2 separate regions of the Homo sapiens genome follow, and region 2 is linked to region 1. The links are contacts of gene promoters, found by promoter capture Hi-C in blood cells and fetal thymus (Javierre and others, 2016). All regions are on one chromosome and are shown on one strand. Each heading gives the region's core, a stretch centred on a gene start or on the middle of the fragment in contact. The rest is flanking DNA. Distances are from core to core; before and after follow the strand shown.

Region 1 (3,291 bases), core at 443-2,942:
GCTAATTTTTGAATTTTTGGTAGAGAAGGAGTTTCACCATGTTGACCAGGCTGGTCTCGAACTTCTGACCTCAGGTGATCCACCTGCCTTGGCCTCCAAAAGTGCTGGAATTACACGCGTGAGCCACTGTGCCCAGCCCATTTAAAGCAATCTTAAAGTGTAAACTATTATTGCAAGATACCAACGTAGATTTTTTTAATAAGTGTTAATTTCTCTTTTGTTGGGAGGTAAACTGCCCTAGGAAAGACAAAAATAATCTTGTAAGCTTACTTTTTAGGTTTCTTTCTATTTATAAAGAAGAGAAAAAAATCACCATTTTTTGTGCAAATCATAGACCTTTGAGTTAGAAGGGCACCAAAAGTTTCAGCTCTATTCCCTTTAAACAAATACAACATTTATTGCATTAGTTATGGGTGAGGAAATTGAGGCTTAGAAGGATTTGAAGATTTGCTCAAGGTGGAGATTCTCAAAAGTGTCCTCAGATACCTGCATCCTAACTTCCTGGGAAGTTTGTTCTAAAGTTTAGACTCCAGAGCTTCACCCAAAACTTACTGCTAAATTAAATCCTTTAAAGGAAATCTGCATTTTTAGGATCTCCTCTTATGCCTTCCAGCATAGTGCTTCTCAAACCCTAATGTTCATCTGAATCACCTAGGAGTCTTATTAAACTGCAAAGTGTGATGTAGCATGTCTGGAGTGGGGCTCAAGATTCTGTTTTTGTTTGTTTGTTTTTGTTTTTCAACTTTTATTTTAGATTTAGAGGCCACATATGCAAGTTTGCTACCTGGGTATGCTGTGTGATGCTGACATTTGTGGTATGAATGATTTTATCACCCAGGTACTGACAATAGTACCCAACAGTTTTTCAACCTTTGCTCCCTCGGTCCCCTCTCTAGTAGTCCACAGTGTCTATTTGTTGCCATCTTTATATCCCTGAGTGATATGGTTTGGCTGTGTCCCCACCCAAATCTCATCTTGGCCAAGAAGCCAAGTTTTAATGGGTACACAAGTGCATAGGAATTGGAGAGTGGGGAGCGTGAGTTGACTATTGGTCAGGGACTGTCAACGGAAGGGAAGGAACCAATGATGGGAGTGAGAGCCCAGAACTCGGTGTTCGAAGTGGGTAATTTATGGGAGGGGCATACCTACGAGCAGACAATGCACTCAGACAAGGAAGATTTGCACATTGGACAGAAGAGACACCTTTTTCCTCTGCAATAAGAACCAAGGAGGTAAGTAGGGGGTCTGATATGAGTTTGTGCATGTGTGCAGGGTGAGTGAGACAATCCATATATTTGAGAAAAGACAGTGAAATCTTTAAAGGTAAAAATAATAAAACCAGCTGTGGCACCTATTGGATAAGGAATTACTAACTGATGATTTAGAAATTCCTTTATGTGCGTTAGGAGCTCATTTGTTATCCCCATTTTACAGATGCGCAGCCCCAGGTTCAGCAATTTGCTCTAAATGAGACTGTAGAGGCTAATTCCAGCCCCCGGCAGCTCTCACCTTAAGCTGCCTGGCTGAGGTCAGCAGTAAGTTACCTGGCAGCGTCCGGGGGCCTGCAGCCGAGGACAGGGCTGGAACTACACTTCCCAGTGTGCCAGGCGGGGCGGGGCGCGGCGGGGAGGGCGCAGGCTCCTTCCCAGAAGCAAAAGCGGAAACAAAAGAGTCTCGCCGGCGTCCCCGCCCGCACACTCGCGCACACTCGCGCTCGGGCGCACACGGAGCAGGGACCGGCGCCCGGAGCGAGCCAGGGAGCGGCTAACCGGGGACCCACCGCGCGGAGCCAGCCTAGCTGCCAGCGAGCCCAACCCGCGACGACCCACGCCCCTGAGCCCCGCAGCCGACCCCTGCCGGCCGGTGTCCCCACCGCCATCCCTGACCCATGGCGCTGAAGAGGATTCAGAAAGTGAGTGCCGGGGCCGGGCCTGGGGCTGCGGGGCAGCGGCCCCCTGCCCACGCTGACTCGGCCAGTGGTCCCGAGAGACATGCGGGGAGAGCAAGGGATGGAAGGGTGGGCCGGGGTGCGGGCAGGGAGCTGAAGGCTCGGGCCGGGCCAGCGGGCATCGGACAGGTGAGGTGGGAGCAGGGTCAGGTCCCAGGCGGCCGGAGGAGCTTGAAGGCTGGGGGCCCGCGCGCGTTCGCGCCGGAGCCGCTCCCGGAGCCCCAGGGTAGAGAGCCTCTTGCGCGTCCAGACCGTCCCGAAATCTGTGCTTCACGGTCACGGCCGGGTTTTGCCCTCCATGGGGCTAGTTTTGACCCCTGTCATGCTGTGTTTTCTCCAGGCTGTTTCTTAAGCCTGTCCTCTTTTATGTTCTTGCTTACCCGGCCTCCCCGGGAGGGCAAGGAAGGTGGGGTGGGCCTGCAGCCTTTCTCCGCGGAGCTGTCGGGTTGGTTCTTTCTCTCCTCTGCGGTTGGCTCTTGCTCAGTTGCCCGAATGGGCTGGAAAGCCCATTTGCGGCCAAGAAGTCAGGAGAAGGCTCCTGCCCCTTCTATTTTGGTGCCTCTGCTGCTGCCACTTCAGGTCACATAGCTGTAGCGAAAACATAGTTGCTGATACACAACAAGATGACCTCCTGGCTGTGATTCACGGTGAGTCAAGCCAAACAGGTTTTTTTCCCCCTCATGATAAACTTAGATGTAAAGTTCGAGACACAACATAAACTGTCGCAAATAAATTGTTTTGATGCTTTGACACATGGGTATAGAATGAGGAAGAAATATATATCTTCATCCAACAACTGTTTACCCATCTCAACCCTGTGTATGGAATCGTCTTTTTTTCACAGTATTTATTGCCACCATTTCAGATGCGAACATCCTTCAGAATTCAGATTCGGGCATTTCTTTCTGTTCATTTTTATTTCTTGTTGGTCTGTGTACTGACCCAAGTTTTAGGTTTTACAGTTACAGTTCACACTGGCAACATTGAGAATGTGTTTGTTAAATAGGGAGTGCTTTTCACTAAGTTAAGCAACAATGGACAGTGTATTTTGTAGTTGTTTCAGAAGAAATTGATGCCCACATTTTTATCCACTTTTTTGACCAGGAGTCCATTATAGCAATAGTATATGTTAGAGCAGTGATAGTGACGTACGCATTGCATTCTGACTCGCCACTGGTGACATCTTTAGGTACAGAGGACAGCAACTTTTAGAGCCTGCCAGTTTTTTATTTTCAAATTCTAAATCTGTGGATCACCTGTTATTTTTTGTGCCATTTAAAGGTCATCTCATTGTAAAACATACAGTTAACAATCAGCATCAGCATTTATTAAGTAATAATGTT
Region 2 (3,445 bases), core at 906-3,405, 51 kb before region 1:
TTTTTTTTTTCTTTTTCTTGAGAGAGTCTCACTCTGTCACCCAGGCTGGAGTACAGTGTCGTGATCTCAGCTCACTACAACCTCCACCTTCTGGGTTCAAGCAATTCTCGTGTTTCAGCCTCCTGAGTAGCCGTGATTACAGGCATGCACAACCATGCCTGGCTAATTTTTGTATTCTTAGTAGAGACAGGGTTTCACCATGTTGGCCAGGCTGATCTTGAACTCCTGACCTCAAGTGATCCACCCGCCTTGGCCTCCCAGAGTGCTGGGATTGCAGGTGTCATCCACTGTGTCCGGCCCAGAAATTGGTTTATTTTATAGTACAGGCTTCCCTCGGTGTCCATGGATTGGTTCCAGGACCTCCCATGGATACCAAAATCTGAGAATGCTCAAGCCCCTGATTTAAAATGACAGTATTTGCCTATAAGCTATGCACATAATCCTGTATACTTTAAATTATTACGTCATCTCTTGATTGCAAATAATACCTAATACAGTGTGAATGCTATGTAAATAGTTGTTATACTGTATTGTTTAGAGAATAATGACAAGGAAAAAAGTGTACATGCTCAGTACCCATACAATTATTTTAGCGAGTATTTTCTATCAGCAGTTGGTTGCATCCATGGATGTGGAACCCACAGATACAGATGGGGCCAATTGTATTTCACAAAAGGGCTATCCATATTTGAAGTGAGAATGAAAGGAGCCAGTATAGAGGAAATGATTAAAGTGACTACAGGGAAAGATACTATTTGAGTCAGCGGTATCTTGACAAAGGGTGGAAGGAAATGAGAGTAACAGCACAGATGTGAAACTCAGCCTTAAAAAGGAAGAGATAGTCTTACTTTCGAAACAAGAAGATGAAAGGACTCTGATGTAAGAGGGAAGGGTATGGGATGTAGTATTGCTAGGTTCCTTTCCCTGCAACTTCAGGTTGGTTACATCACTTGCTGAGTTGTATGACGGCCACCTAGGAGGCAGTTCAAACAAGGACAGCAAAAGAATACAGACTAAGAAGAAAGAGAGGAAAGTCTTACCAGTTAACATCAGGAGCTGAACTGAAATTGAAATGAAATGCAACTGGACATGTTTAGACTCATTTTCTTTCATTTACAGGGTAAGATTTGAGTTAATGATACTTTTGTTTTGTCGTTGGTAGTAGGCTTGATCCTGGGTGTTTTTTTTTGGCGGGAGGGTGTTGGGGGAAAAAGAGAAATCCTCCATCCTGTTAATGGCTTAGAAGTGCATTTTACTGAGTCTTTCTTCATAAAAACGATATTCTGAATGTTGGTGACATTCCTTGGCCAATCCACATAAAGACAGTCTTATAAAAATCTTAATTTATCTTTGTACATTTTCATATTATAGCTACTGTCTTAGGTTTATTGAAATAGGTACATAAGAATGGTATAAAATGTCATAATCTCTAGGTTAGTCTCAAAAATCTCATTACTTCGTTTTCGTTCTCAACCAAAGCAAGCATATTTTTCTGGACAGTTTATGGTAATGAGCCAAAATGGTGCCAGGCAACTTCCTTGGGACAGAAAATCAAAACTCTAATACAAAGTACGAAGTTCAGAGAAGGAAGATAGTCTTTAAAAGAAAATTGTTTCAGGTGGAAGAGATAAGTCAAAGAGGAGCATTTATTAAAACAGAGGCATAACTTGAGATGTGGGGCCATTAAAAAGAAATGTTGTGTTTTTATGAAGATCCATATAGCATTGCTAGCTTTCCAGGTGGAGAGCAAGGACCTCCACTGTTTTTTCTACTAAAGCTTTATTCCAACTTCTTCTAACCCTTTCTTCCCCCACTTTTAAAGATATTTGGGATTTGTAGTGTTCAAATTGGGTTAACAAACATAAAAGGATGTTTTCTGGACATAAAGGAAATTTGATTTACAGACTTTTTCCAGGATTTGTTAATAAACAAACGCTGACATCTTAGAATAAATTAAGTATCAATACTACACGAACTGAATTTAATATTCTTTGTGTTTTTTTCATAATTTAAAACAATTTAACAAATTTCAAAATGTTTAATGAAAAAGTTAATAAAATTCTCATATTTTTGTACATTATTTAATGTAAAAATTACTGTACTTCCTACATTGTATTTGAAAGTATATAATGCCAGACACAGTCGCTTAGGCCTGTAATTCCAACACTTTGAGAATGTAACAGCCAATGTAGTGAAACCTTGTCTCCACAAAAAAATGCAGAAATTAGTTGAGTGTGATGGCATGCACCTATAGTCCTAGCTACTCAGGAGGCTGAGATGGAAGGATCCCTTGAGCCTGGGAGATTGAGGCTTCAGTAAGCTGCGATTGCACCACTGTGCAATCTAATTTAATCTCTTAAAAAAAAAAAAAACTGTATACCCACCACATATTATCTTTCTCCTGCATAGATCAGAAATAAAGCAAGACACATAAGGCAGTAATTCCTAGGGTTAAGTGATATAAAAAGTACTATTAAAAAATACGTCTCTGCACAAAATTATTTTTAACACCTAGTTTGCATTATAAAGGCATAAAAGCTTTATACACTTTAATCGCATGAAAGTTTATTAACAAATAACCAGGATAAACTACTCATTGCTTTTTAAAGAAATATGTGTTTGCTTTTAAGAATATGAAGAAACAGGCTAATTTCAGTTTTTAGGCAGAATTGGGTGATGAGAAAAAATGTATTCTCACTTTTGATATATGACTTTCTTTATATTTTGTAAGATTTTCTTTGTATATTTTTTCTATAGATTTCTCTCCTATTCTGTATATGGAGGAAAATAATTTGAGAAAATGTTAGTTTCTAATATTTTCAACATAAGATTAAAAAATAAAAGTTAAACATGCCATTTCAGTAAGTTATTTAGAAATATTTCATTTTTCAGAAATGTTGCCTGCATGGATTTAATTTATAGTGAAGTGTTTTGTGTGTGCTATTTATAAAAAGAGTCTTTACAATGTAAACTTTTATGCTCACTGTAAAATCATCTGTGTTTGTTTATTAAACATATGTCACTTTGAAATGCTGTACTTTGCTGTGGGATACATTTTAGTTTAATTTTTATCGCCTCTTTCCTCATCCATGCCAAGAAAAAACTGAAAGCTTGACTTTATGTTTTTGCATCAAGGCTTGTTTCTAATATGAATATACTGTGTACCACATCTTATTGACCTCAAAAAAAGAAATAATATAAACTTTACATATATTACATTTACACTGCCCTCTACGACAGGATAGAATTTATATCTGGAAATATAAGATATGCCAATACCTTGAGTTTTTCTGTAATTTTTAGCTAATTTAGTGCCTCTTGCAATTATTTACAGATAGATTAAAATTTGATTACTTTAACATTAAGTAGCCTTTTGGATATCAAAGTTTAAGATTAAATACCATCATTGTGAAGTTTCACTGATCTGTTATGCTCCCTTCACTGC

Evidence for each region. Contacts are between HindIII fragments. The CHiCAGO score rates a contact against its expected background, and 5 or more counts as called.
Region 2: a fragment that was not itself captured here is called in contact with the fragment with the promoter of UBE2D1 in region 1 in 2 of 17 cell types (monocytes and activated CD4 T cells); the score reaches 6.3 in monocytes.

The regions. Positions count from the first base shown.
Region 1 is chr10:58,333,314-58,336,604 of GRCh38, forward strand. It overlaps UBE2D1 (ubiquitin conjugating enzyme E2 D1), which reads left to right and starts at 1,693. Exons shown (of 7, transcript NM_003338.5): 1 at 1,693-1,912. The coding sequence starts at 1,889. RefSeq lists enhancers at 1,357-1,857, 1,456-1,750 and a silencer at 1,558-2,077. The HindIII fragment of the contact is 6,404 bases long and covers 264-3,291 here.
Region 2 is chr10:58,281,963-58,285,407 of GRCh38, forward strand. The region is part of intron 2 of CISD1 (CDGSH iron sulfur domain 1); the gene reads left to right. Among named protein-coding and RNA genes, the nearest start is that of CISD1, 15 kb to the left of the region's middle. The HindIII fragment of the contact is 761 bases long and covers 1,776-2,536 here.